2 separate regions of the Homo sapiens genome follow, and region 1 is linked to region 2. Evidence: promoter capture Hi-C in 16 types of primary human blood cells and fetal thymus (Javierre and others, 2016). All regions are on one chromosome and are shown on one strand. Each heading gives the region's core, a stretch centred on a gene start or on the middle of the fragment in contact. The rest is flanking DNA. Distances are from core to core; before and after follow the strand shown. Region 1 holds the start of LMBR1 (limb development membrane protein 1). Region 2 holds the start of NCAPG2 (non-SMC condensin II complex subunit G2).

The links. Contacts are between HindIII fragments. The CHiCAGO score rates a contact against its expected background, and 5 or more counts as called.
Region 1: a contact is called between the fragment with the promoter of LMBR1 here and the fragment with the promoter of NCAPG2 in region 2, in 1 of 17 cell types (neutrophils). The highest score is 7.4, in neutrophils.

Annotation. Positions count from the first base shown.
Region 1 is chr7:156,888,057-156,894,432 of GRCh38, reverse strand. LMBR1 (limb development membrane protein 1) reads left to right here and starts at 1,250. Exons shown (of 17, transcript NM_022458.4): 1 at 1,250-1,505. The coding sequence starts at 1,440. LOC102723795 (a long non-coding RNA gene) reads right to left here and starts at 1,035. Exons shown (of 4, transcript XR_928253.3): 1 at 770-1,035. RefSeq lists silencers at 1,029-1,608, 1,659-2,158. The HindIII fragment of the contact is 17,725 bases long and covers 1-6,376 here.
Region 2 is chr7:158,702,379-158,709,382 of GRCh38, reverse strand. NCAPG2 (non-SMC condensin II complex subunit G2) reads left to right here and starts at 4,579. Exons shown (of 28, transcript NM_017760.7): 1 at 4,579-4,659. RefSeq lists silencers at 3,923-4,202, 4,323-4,412, 4,563-4,662 and an enhancer at 5,240-5,818. The HindIII fragment of the contact is 5,779 bases long and covers 3,375-7,004 here.

The DNA.
Region 1 (6,376 bases), core at 1-2,500, 1.8 Mb after region 2:
AGATTCATAAAAATCTAAACAACGGCCGGGCGCGGTGGCTCAGGCCTGTAATCCCAGCACTTTGGGAGGACGAGGTGGGCGGATCACCTGAGGTCAGGAGTTCAAGAACAGCTTGGCCAACGTGGTGAAACCCCGTCTCTACTAAAAATACAAAAATTAGCTGGGCGTGGTGGCGGGCGCCTGTAATCCCAGCTACTCGGGAGGCTGAGGCAGGAGAATCACTTGAACCCAAGAGGCAGAGGTTGTTGTGAGCAGAGATCGCCATTGCACTCCAGCCTGGGCGACAAGAGTGAAACTCTGTCTCAAAAAAAAAAAAAACAAAAACAAAAACTAAATGACATTTGAAAGCAATTTGTAGATTTTCACACTTCCTAAGAATTCTCAAAGATGCCAAAAACAAAAATCGCAGCCACTAGCAATTTAAATGACTTCCTCGTAGCCAAATAAATCCTAAGGTAAAATTATAAACATTCCCTTAAATTCAAATTTTATAACAAAAAGAAAGATAATAGGGAACGGAGGGTGAATTATTGTGTTTGATATATTTGGCGGTGAAAAATACATATATTACGTGCTGTTTAGGGTCCACTGAGAGTCATAAAACTGACCCTAGTGACCGAGCTACCGGAAGGACTTGGCAAGGGTCTAGCGAGCTCGGTTATCTGCGTTTTCCAGGTGGGGCAGCCCAAGACCCTTCTCAGACCCAGAGAAGCTGGGTTTCCGCCCAAAGCCCGGCCCCAAACCACCGATTTCCGACCTTTCAACCTACTTTGGCAGAGCAAGAGTTTCCGCGGGAGACTCCCTGCTTCCCTCTGCCCAGGTCCCCTGAGGCCGAGTGCGGTACTGAGTGCTGAGTAAGGGGTGCCGAGTGCCAAGCACTGAGTAACTGGGGGAGGGGAACCATGCAGCTGTCATAAATAATTAGCTCCTGTGAGGAACAGGAACTCCGAGACTGCGGCCGGGCCAGGTGGGCAGAGGTCGCAGCGCCCTCGCCGCGTTCCCCGTCCCCATCCGACGCCAGGACAGCGCCTCCTTAACTGGGGTAGCCCCTGAGAGCGTGGGCGGAGCCCCGCCCCGCGACCTCAAGGCCCCGCCCCCTCAGCGCCTCCCGGCCCAGCAGCTCGGAAGACCGCGAGGCGCGCTTTTCTGACGCATCGGCGCCTTTCGTCTGACGTATGCCTGCACCGCCCCCTCCCCTCCCTGCCCCGCCCCCGCCCCGCCCCCGACTGCGCGGCGCCCGCCCTCCCTTAGTCAGAGCTGCTCGTCTGAGGCTGCTGAGGCGACGGCCGGTGTCGTGGTCGCGGTACCTGTTCCAACACGGCTCGCGGGCCCGTGCCGGCTCCGGTCCCCGGCGCGGCTGTCCGAGCCCCTGCGGCGGGCGGACGATGGTGTGGCGGAGCACGCGGACGCGGGCGGCGCGGCGGCGGGCATGAAGGAGGATGGAAGGGCAGGACGAGGTGTCGGCGCGGGAGCAGCACTTCCACAGCCAAGTGCGGGAGTCCACGGTGCGTGGGGACCGAGGCAGCCCTGACAGTCCCGCGTGCCCGCCCGGGCCCTCCGTCCCCGCCCCCGGGCCCCCGGTCCCCGGACCCCTCACCTCCGGGCCTCGCCTCGCGCCTCCCGCCCCGGCCTCTGCCGCTCTCCCTCCCCACCCCTCCTCTCCCCTCCCCTCCCCTTCCCTCCCCACCTCTCCTCTCCCCTCCCCTCCCCTTCGCTTCCTCTGCCTGCCCCCCCGCTCCGCTCTTGCCTCCCCTGCCCCCTCGCGCTCCCTCCGTTCGAGCCCCGACCCCGCCCCCGCCCCGCGGCCTCGGTGCTGCCCTTCCCTTCCCGCGGGGAGGGCTGCGGTGCGCGCCGCGCTCTGGGACCCCAGGGGCTTCCTCTCTGGGCGGGTGTGCGGCTCGCGCCTCGGGGTGTGGACGGCGGCCCCGCCAGTGCGCGCCCCCGCGCTCCGCCGCCAGGCCAGGTAGGCAGGTGGATGCGCAGGCGTCCCGGAGAGCCTGGGTGGGCCCGGCGGGTCCGGGAAGGGCCGGGCTGCGCGGAGCCCGCCCGCCTCTCGCGTTTGGACCCGGCCGGTTACCTTGTCCCGGTCAACACCTCCTGCCCTCCTGGCGCCTCACGTTTCCATCCCTCTTTCATCTCCCCCAGCCCCCACGTGGGTTGAGTTCGAAACCTTACCGTTTGGGATGAGAATATTGGTTATTTTTGGGAGTGAGGACCTCAGCAAAAGTCCATTTTGCTATGGAAGCAACTTCTTAGGGAAGCAGCTTCTTTTTTGGCCCATGTTCCATGTGTGCTGTTGGCAGGAGTCAGGAAGCGGACTTGACCTTGGAAAGTCTACTTTGATGTTTTTATCTTTTCATGATGCTCTAGAATGTATTGTAATTGGGTTTATCTGTGTTTTCATAACTGTTGTAAAATATGTCAATTTTTTATGTTTATATTTACGCCTCTCCTAAGTTGTCTACGATTCAGTCACACTTGGTTTGAGGTGAAAAAATTCTGCTTTAGAATTATCTAATTTGTGTACTCACTGATCTTGAAAATTGAGAATCACTTTGGAAGTCATACTTTGAATAAAGAGGACATATAAAGTCTGAGCTGGTGGAATTTGAGTTAGTGGAATTTGGTACACATTTAGTTGTAATTTTTATAATTGAAGCTAAAATACACAGAGATAAGTTCATGTAATCATACATGTACCCTTCAGATCATTTCATACTAAACACGCCTGTGTACTCCTGAATCCACCAGGAGTTTGAGACTGGTCAGCCTGGGCAACATAGTGAATCCCCATCTCTACCATTATAAAAAAATAAATAAATAAACACAATTTTACTAGGATCCCAGAGACTGATTCCTTTCCCTCTTCCAATTACTTTCTCCTCCACCAAGGGTAAACGTTGCCCTGGCTTCTAATATCATAGATTAGTTTTTGCTTAGTTTTGAACTTTATGTAAATGGAATCTTACCGTATATACTCTTCTGTGTCCAGTTTCTTGTACAATGTTTGTGAAATTTCTCCATGTTGTATGTGGTTATAATTCATTCTCGGTGCAGTAGTTGTGTGACTATAGCACAATTTATTTTTCATTTTACTGTTGATGGGCACTTCAGTAGTTTCTAGGTTTTGGCTATGAATATATATATGTGTATATATATGTGTATGTATATATGTGTGTGTGTGTGTGTGTGTGTGTGTATATATATATATATATATATATTTTTTTTTTTTTTTTTTTTTTGTGATGGAGTCTCGCTCTGTCTCCCAGGCTGGAGTGCAGTGGCACAATCTCGGCTCACTGCAACCTCTGCCTCCGGGATTCAAGTGATTCTCCTACCTCAGCCTCCTGAATAGCTGGGATTACAGGCACACACCACCACACCCAGCTAATTTTTCTATTTTTATTAGAGACGGGGTTTCTCCATGCTGGCCAGGCTGGCCTTGAACTCCTGACCTCAGGTGATCCACCTGCCTTGGCCTCCCAAAGTGCTGGGATTACAGGCATGAGCCACCACGCCGGGCTGGCTATGAACTTTTTGTACATAGCTTTTGGTGGACATGTTTGTGCATTTCTGTTGGGGATAGCCCTAGGAATGGAATCCCTAGGTTAAAGAGTGTGCATTTGTTCATCTTTAGTAGATACTTTAAAACAATTTTCCAAAGTGGTTGTACCAGTGTACACTTCCGCCAGTACTGACAGTCTCAGAGGTGTGGTTGTTACTCATCTTTATCAATACTTGATATTTTCTGTCCTTTTTAATTTTAGTCATTCTAGCAAGTGTGTTATAGTGTTCATCATACAAATAATTTTAATTTGCATTTTCCTGATAACTAATGAATTTGAGCACCTGTTTGTTTATTAGCCATTTGGAAATCTTGTGAAGGGTCAAATTTTTTTCCCCATTTAAAAATTAAGTTTATCTTTTTAATATTGATTTGCAAGGTCTTTACAGAATAACTTGTATTATATTGTTATACAGGTGGATATGATTTCTTTGTCAGAAATATATACTGCACATATTTCTTTCCCACTCTGTGGATGCCTTTCACTTTTAATGATATCTTCTGATGAACAGAAATTATTAATTTTAATATAGTTCAATTTATTAAAATTTTTTTGAGTACTTTTAATGTCCCGATTAAGAAATCTCTCCTTACTCTAAGACTGATGTTCTCTTCTTCTTTTCTCTAAATGCTTTATTGAATTACTCTTCTCATTTAAATTTGCAATCTATTTCGAATTTATTTTTTTGTGTCTGGTGCAAGGTAGGAGTCATATTTTTTTCTCCCACAGGAATGTCCAATTGCTTCAGCACTATTTAGGACTTTTGTCACAGATAGGTAACTGTATATTCATAGGGTTTAATTTTGGACTTTATGTGGTTTTATTGGTCTATTTGTCTTTAGTTTTATTATTTTTTAAAATTTGAGACAGGTTCTCCCTCTGTTGACCAGGCTGTCGTGCAGTGGCGCAATCATGGCTCACTGCAGCCTTGACTTCCAAGGCTCAGGCGATCCTCCCACCTCAGCTTCCCAAGTAGCTGGGACTACAGGCTTGAATCATACAGGTGTGCACTAACAGACCCAGCTAATCTTTTAATTTTTTGTAGAGGTGAGGTCTCACCGTGTTGCCCAGACCTGTCTCCTGGGCTCAAGTGATCCTCCTGCTCTTTGGCTTTACTTTTAATTAATTAGATATTCTAGAATTTGGGTTGAGAAAGGGACACATTGTAAAACAGTCCAGAGCTTCGTCTACTCCCCTGAAAACGGTTTTGGTACCGATTATGGAGTTCTTTAGTTCTGACTCTCCTCACCTGTTTCCCTCAACCCAGTACCCCTGGCTGGTTGAGTCTACTCCATCTTCTACAGAACCAGCGCAGACAGTGACCAGGCTCAGGGTTCCCAGTCTTTGGCATTTCTTTCTCAAATGATTTATATTTAGAGTGAATGTAAATACTTTTTCTCTAAGACCTGTTGCCAATTTTTAAAATTATTCAATTCTTTCTGATTTTGCTACATAATGCTATAATTGCTTAACTTTTTTATCATAATAAGATATATATATATAACATGCAATTTACCATATCTAAATATACAGTTCAGTGGCGTTAAATACATTCACATTGTTGTGCAACCACCACCACTATCCATTTCCAGATCTTTTTCATCAACTGAAACTTGATACCCATGAAACAGTAACTCTCCATTCTTCACTCTCTCCAGCTGCTGGTTCTGCCTATATGAATCTGACTATTCCCAGTTGAACCATACAATATTTGTCCTTTTCTATCTGGCTTATTTCACTTAGCATAATGCCTTCAAAGTTCACCTGTGTTGTAGCATGTGTCAAAATTTCTTTTTCTTTCTTTTTTTTTTTTGAGACAGAGTCTTTCTCTGTTGCCCAGGCTAGAGTGCAGTGGCGTGATCTCGGCTCATTGCAACCTCTCCCTCCCTGGTTCAAGCAATTCTCCTGCCTCAGCCTCCCGAGTAGCTGGGATTACAGGCATGCGCCACCGCACTTGGCTAATTTTTGTATTTTTAGTAGAGATGGGTTTCACCATGTTGGCCAGGCTGGTCTTGAACTCCTGACCCCAGGTGATCCACCTGCCTCAGCCTCCCAAAGTGCTGGGATTACAGGTGTGAGCCACTGTGCCTGGCCTCATTTTTTAATTTTTTGTAGAGATGGGGTTTTTGCTATGTTGCCCAGGCTGTTCTTGAACTCCTGGCCTCAAGTGATGCACCCACCCTGGCCTCCCAAAGTGCTGGGATTACAGGCGGGAGCCAACGTGCCTGGCCCAGAATTTGTTCAGGCTGAATAATATTTTCTTTTTGTGTATACTGTATTTTGCTTACCCATTCATTCATCAATTGACCTGAGTTGTTTCTGTTTTTGGCTATTGTGAATAATGCTGCTGTGATCATGGGTATGCAAATATCTATTAGAGTCCCTGCTTTCAATTCAGAAGTAGAATTGCTGGATCATATGATAATTCTATGTTTAATTTTTTTTTTTTTTTTTTTTGAGACAGAGTCTCGCTGTGTTTCCCAGGCTGGAGTGCAGTGACTCAATCTCGGCTCACTGCAAGCTCCGCCCCCCCGGTTCATGCCATTCTCCTGCCTCAGCCTCCCGAGTAGCTGGGACTACAGGCACCCGCCACCACGCCCAGCTAACTTTTTGTATTTTTAGTAGAGACGGGGTTTCACCATGTTAGCCAGGAAGGTCTTGATCTCCTGACCTCGTGATTCGCCCGCCTCAGCCTCCCAAAGTGCTGGGATTACAGGCGTGAGCCACCACGCCCGGCCTCTATGTTTAATTTTTTTGAGGAACTGCCATACCATTTTCCACAGAGGCTGTACCATTTTATATTCCCACTA
Region 2 (7,004 bases), core at 3,330-5,829:
TCAGGTATTCCTTCATAGCAGTGTGAGAGCAGACTAATACAGCTTCCTATGTGCTGGAGAGACTCCTCCCCTTCTTGGAGCCAGTGGCTCACTCTGCTGGGCCAGGCCCTGTGTGGCCCTGGAGACCCCTCCTCCGGGCCCCCGGCTGGTGTGACAGAGCCCTCACAGCTGCCCTGCACTGGGGGGTTTTGCCCAGAGTGGCTTTGAAATGGTTATTTTAACTAGGATTCCATGAAGTTCCTAGCTAATGACTTCTTGTTGGTTTAGCTTATTTTCCATGTTACAATTATTATAATTAAATTATAAATCTTGTATTTTCTTATACAGGCAAGGGAAGGGTTTCTGAGAAGCTGATAACAATGGTTTCCTTTGGAGCAGAGGGCTGTGTCCAGGGGGTCTCAGAAGACTCTTCTGTATACCTCTTCTTGCCATGTGAGTTTGAACCGTGTGATTGTGTTACTTGTGCAATTCAAAATAAACTAAACTTAAAAAAAAAAAAAAACCCTGCAAACCCTATGCTTGGCTCACTATGAAAGATATTATATTTTTGGCCGGGCGTGGTGGCTCACGCCTGTAATCCCAGTACTTTGGGAGGGTGAGGCGGGCGGATCACGAGGTCAGGAGATCGAGACCATCCTGGCTAACACGGTGAAACCCCATCTCTACTAAACAAAATACAAATAATAATAATAATAATAATAATAATAATAATAATAATAATTAGCCAGGCGTGGTGGCGGGCACCTGTAGTCCCATATACTCGGGAGGCTGAGGCAGGAGAATGGCGTGAACCTGGGAGGCAGAGCTTGCAGTGAGCCGAGATAGCACCACTGTACTCCAGCCTGGGCAACAGAGCGAGACTATGTCTCAAAAAAAAAAAAAAGATATTATATTTTTATCAAAGATATTTTTGCCAAGTTTTATACCCTTTGAAACTTAGTTTTATATTGCCTTGCCATGTGGTCCACCTTTAATTCTATAAACCTTTTCTAATTTACCACATTGTAAGATTTTAAGAACACAGATGATCTCATGCCTCATTCATTCATTTATTCAGAAAATATTTTCTTCAAGCATCTAAAATGTGCCAGGCCTTACGCCACGGATATAGGACTAAGGATGACACAGTGCTTGACATGGAGGAGATGATGAGGCCTGTGGTAGGGGGCTAAGAGATTGCATTACAGTGAGGGTTATGGGGTTCAGGAAATAAACCCCTATAGAAGGTAAAGCTTGAGCTGAGTTCTGGAGGAGTGTCATCTATTTGCGGGGAAGGTCACATTCCCAGTGAACGGTGATGGCAGCGGGAGGCAGACAGGTTCCTGGGTGGGAAGGGGCAGGTCCCTGGTGAAACCCCACTTTCAAGCCAGGGACAGCCTGAAGTTCCTGGGCCAGGATGCCAGTTCCTGGTGAAGTCCGAGATCCAGAAAGAGAACTTACTTGATGCCTTTCAGCCAATCAAGTAGTGCTTTTTCCAGGCCTGCCCATGGGCCAATCAGCACACACTTCCTCCTGTCTATGGACCAATCAACATGTACTTCCTCCATTCTGAGCCCATACGTGCCTGTGGATAGGAGCTACCCACTTCGAGTCTCCTCTCCACTGAGAGCTATTTGGTCAGCTGTTCTCTGCCTTGCTCACCCTCCAGATGTCTGCCAAACCTCATTCTTCCTGGACATGGGACAAGAACTTGGAACCTGCTGAATGGTGAGAGCAAAACGAGCTGTAATACTTTCCTGGCCAGCTTGCCAAGTTGCAGGTGGGAGCCAAAGTGGCTGTAACGGGTTCCTGGCCGGGTCGCTGAGCTGCGGGTGGTGACACGCTCCCAGACTGAGGGAGTGAAGAGTGGTGACCCTTGTAGAGGCCCAGGCCTTGGGATTCCCCAAGCCAGAGCTATAATGCTATAGCCCTCCCACCCTCTGCTGGCGCCCAGTGGCCACCCCATGCAGTGGGAAGCAGCGGTGGGGCCGGGACAGCCAAGGAGCCGTGGACCGGTGTGGGGCGGCAGGACCAAAAGACCTGTAACACAAATGAGGTGAAACATGCCGCCCCGGAAACACGACCCCCTGCTAGCCACGCTGTGGGTGATGAGAAGGACAGAAGAGCTGTGGCCCTTCTGGGAGCCCAGACCTCGGGGCTCCCCGAGCCAGGGCTGTGACACAGTGTAACCCCCCTTTGGGGCTCTGTGGCTCCTGGCATCTGTGAGCTTTCGGGTGCCACCATGTTCCCCTTGTCCAGATGCTGATGCCTGCAGTGGAAGCCACTTGTGGTACCTCTGGTCCAGCCACAGCCTTGCATGGAGCCGGCAGCTGTGCAGGCACCTAGAGCTGCCTGCTCCACCACAGCAGCTGCATGGCTGGGTGTGCGCAGTGGTTGGACCCCATGCTCGCTTGCTCACATACCCCTTGCCGCTCTGCACCTGGCTCACCCTTGGCAGGCGTGGGATCTGGGTTGGTAGTGCAAGCCGAGTGCAACCTGCTGGGCTGAGTGGGCTCGAGCAAAACTCTAGCAGAGGCACCGCTGGCCACGGAGGTTTCTAGCTGGTGAAGCGATACCCAAAGGATCCTATGACATTAGTGGCTGCATGGGCAGGTGCATTGGGGGTGCACTGGGCGCTCCTGCTGCCCTGCTTCCACGTGCCTCTGAGCACTGCACTACATAGACATTTAGGCCTCATAACAACCCCCTAGAGGAGGCTGAGCTCTGCATTATACAGACATTTAGGCCTCATAACAACCCCCTAGAGGAGGCTCAGTACTTAAGTAGGTCCCATTTGATAGATGAGGAAACTGAGGCTCAGTCGTCCATGGCTTGTCAAAGGTCACCAGCTAGTGAGCACAGAACCAGGTTAGCCCAGGTGGTACAGCTTCAGAGCTCACATGCGTAACTTGTTACATTATTCCTACTCAGGAAGTGGAAACCCCAGGAACAGATGGCTGATTGGAGGAGGGACCAGCATAAGGAAAGGGGCAGGATTCAGGGGTGGGAGGGGAAGTCGATATCTGTTTTGGATGCATGTCAGCACCAGCGTGGGAGTAGGCAGTGAGCTGTTGAAAATTCTGGAGTTCAGAAATAACCGTGTCTTGCAAATCCAGATGCAGAGGTCACTGCTTGAAGGTGGCAGTTTGCACCTTGGATATGAAGGAAATTGCTAAGAAGAAAGCAGTGAGAAGATGAGGGCACCAAAATTCAAGAAATGGCAGGGAAGGATCTGTGTATGGAGGGAGGAGGAGGTCAGAGGTGGCTGGAGCCCCAGGATGAAATAGGCAATGTTAGATATCGGCCACCTGTTGACAAGGGTCCCAGACTCAGCATCCTCTGAGTGGGTCTTCTCCCTCCCCTCTGCAGCCTGCCTTGCTTCACTGTTGCAAGCTTCCTAGTAAACCAGTCTTCTCCCTGCTATAATTTTATATTGCTTGTTGAAACGATATTCCAACAAGTAACATAAATATTTTTGATATACTAGGCTAAATAAAACATATTTAAAAATTAATGTCACCTATTTATCTTCATTTTTCTAATGTGGTCACTAGAAATTTACAAGTGCACTTGTGGCTCCCATGATGTTCCTATTGGTTGGTGCTGTGCTCCCACAGTGCAACGACTTCAATCTCGCCAAGACCTCTGGCTTGAGTTAAGCCAGGAAAACAGATACCACTCTAGACATCTCAAGCATGAAAGAATATAGCTCCAGGGAAGGCCAAGTCCTCACGAAGGGATGCAGAGCTCGGTGGTAAAGAGCACCGTTTTCTAAGAATTTGCTTTCAACAAAAATTGGGAACGCCCAATCAAGTTATTCGCTGACACAAATTAAAAGAGATTGATACATCAGTATGTGATTTTGGCATTTAAGTCCAAAGAATTGAATGACATTGCTACTCCTCCTTCACACGGGTGCCTCCGAGGGTCCCCGCTAAGGCCTCTCCCTCTCCACCCTATGGGCAGCTGACCTGCCGGGGGCCTCACCTGCTGGAGGAGCAACTGCAGGAGAAGCACCTGTTAGGGGCCGCACCTGGCCGGAGGGGCTCCTGCGGGGGAAGCACCTGCCCAGGGTGCACCTACCGTGTGCAGGCTGCGGACCACCCGGACAGGTGCCCCCTCGGCAGGGAGGGCGGTCACGGGGGCCGGCCAGGTCGGGGTGGGGTCCTCCCGGGGATCCAGACACGGCCCTGTGGCCTCTCCCCGCCCCAAGCCTTTCCTTTCTCTCCCCCTCTCTCTCTTCCTCTCCTTCCTCCTTCCCACAACACCGCCCGCTCGCAGCGCCCCGCCCTCTCCTGGACCGCGCACTCCCTCCGCGGAGGCCCCAGGACGCGCACGAGCGCGCAGTGGACGTCGGCGCGCGGACCGGGCATGGGTTCCCCAGCTGTGGCGCCCCGCGTGCGCGTTCCGTAGTGCCCGGTAGGGCACTGGGCTTAGCTGCTCGAGGCCGCGCCCTAAGAGGCGGGGCATAGACAGGAAGAAGACTGGCGGGCATGTGGGCGGGGCATGATCTGGAGGCGGGGCGGGCCGGGCGTGTGGGCGAGGCCCGAGGCTCGCGGCGCCCCAGCTCTCGCGAGAGCGGCGCCTGATGACGACCGGGAGGGCGGGGCCCGTCTGGGGCGCCGGCGGGTGCGTTTGAATCTGGTCCGAGCGCGGGAAACGGCGGGTCCCCGAGCCCAGGTAAGAGCTGCGGTGCCGAGCCGGGATTGGGTTCAGAGCAGGGGCTGGGAAGTAGCAGGGATCGGGCGGGAAGCCCCTCCTCGGCTGGTCGGGGTCCCAGCCTCCCCTCCCCTAAGGAGGCGGCCGACCTGCGTGCGGGCAGTGCTGCCTCTGACGGAACTGGACGGAACTGGCGACCCCGGGCCATCCCCCCTACCCAGCTCAGCGACGCCCGTCCTTCTTGTCCGTGTCGGAGGAAAATCCCAGCCCCGGGCGCGGGCACTGCCCTCAGAGAGCGACCCCCCAGCCCTGAGCATGGGCACCGTCCTCAGAGAGTGTCCCCTCAGTCCTGGGCATGGGCACTGCCCTCAGAGAGCGACCTCCTCTGTCCTGGGCATGGGAACTGCCCTCAGAGAGTGTCCCCTCAGTCCTGGGCATGGGCACTACCCTCAGAGAGCGACCCCCTCAGTCCTGAGCATGGGCACTGCCCTCAGAGAGCGTCCCCTCAGTCCTGGGCATGGGCACTACCCTCAGAGAGCGACCCCCTCAGTCCTGAGCATGGGCACTGCCCTCAGAGAGCGACCCCCTCAGTCCTGGGCATGGGCACTGCCCTCAGAGAGCGTCCCCTCAGTCCTGGGCATGGGCACTACCCTCAGAGAGCGACCCCCTCAGTCCTGAGCATGGGCACTGCCCTCAGAGAGCGTCCCCTCAGTCCTGGGCATGGGCACTGCCCTCAGAGAGCGACCCCCTCTGTCCTGGGCATGGGAACTGCCCTCAGAGAGAGTCCCCTCAGTCCTGGGTGTCGGTACTGCCCTTAGAGAGAGTCCCCCTGAGCCCTGGGTGTAGGCACTGCCCTCAGAGAGTATCTCCCCAGCTGTGGACGTGGGCATTGTCCTCAGAGACATCAGTCTCCTGAACTCTTGTTGCTGGTTTGGTGCCTCTTGTTGTGTCCATGAGGAAGGAGTTTGGGGACGGAGTGGGAAGTCACAGGTGGTGAGAAGGTAACAGGGATTTCTTCTTTTTAATGCTCATCTTGATTTAGTACCAGACCTCCTGTGCGAAGAGTAACCTGCTCTTCGGACTGATAACTGGATGGTGAGATGACTCCTTACCTTGAAAGTAGCATTCTGGCTGCAGGGCTGAGGTCTTATGCACATATGGTACAAGAAACATGGAATATTGCCACTTTGGGAGATAGATTGAAAAATTAACCATTAAAAAATTACAGTCACTAATATAAGAGGGAAAATGGGAAATATAGGAATAAGTTTGGTAGTCTAGAGGAAGTGTATTACTGTAAGTTGGACTAACATGCCAAAGAGGTACACTTGGAAATAGAGCAAACAAGAAAAGTGACCAGAACTATGAAAAAGTGGAGAGTGTTCACAGACTTGCCGGGCGAAGATGTATGATTCCATGTGTTTGCTGCACCTTATTGGATTATTTTTCTAAAATCATGAATTTGTCCTAGCCACTATTCATTATGCTTGTTACTGGCCACTCTCCCTTCCCTCCCCATTTTCTTTGTCAGTGAAAAATGTGCCAGTCATGCTTGATTTAAAGAGGGAGACACGTTGTCGTTAGGCAATTTCATCATTGCATGAACATCACAGAGTGGACTTGCCTACACCTAGAGGTGTAGCCTACACACATAGGCTGTATGGTGTAGCCTACTGCTCCTAGAATGTTACTGTACTGAATACTGTAGGCAACTGTAATACAATGGCAAGTATTTGCATCGCTAAACATATCTAAGCATAGAAAAAGCACAGTAAAAATATGGCATTATAATCTTATGGGACCACGGTCATACATGTGGTCTGTTGTTGACTGAAATGTTATGTGGTCCATGACCGTAGTTCATAGTTCAGCCATTTGAGTTGAGGAATGAGATGACCAGACTTCACTGTTAACTTATTTCGGGAGTCATTAAACTGAGGTTATTTTTGCTTTGTTCAATTTGGACATTAAAATCTAGTATTATATGTTTAAGATGACTCTCTGTCCCCATAATTATTGGCAATAATTTTCCATATTGCTCTATTTATAATGGTGCAGGTGGTTTTCATTTATTTTTAAAGTGAGGGGGCTCCTACTGCAAATGTGTTCCATCATTTGCTATTACCTCATCTTTAGGTTGATGTTTTTTCAGTAGGGCACCAGTAGCACCAGGTATTGTGAATGCGAAATAGAATTTCCTGGAAAAACACAGGCAGGATGGAGGGTATACAAAGTCCCCTGAGCTCTCATTATCCCGAAGGGGTGGGAGGAGGGTGCTGTGGTTGAGCATGCCTAATGCATAGTCTAACAAGATCCCAGGTGACCCCCGGGGCCACTGTTTTCCATCTCACTTTGAATAACAAGAT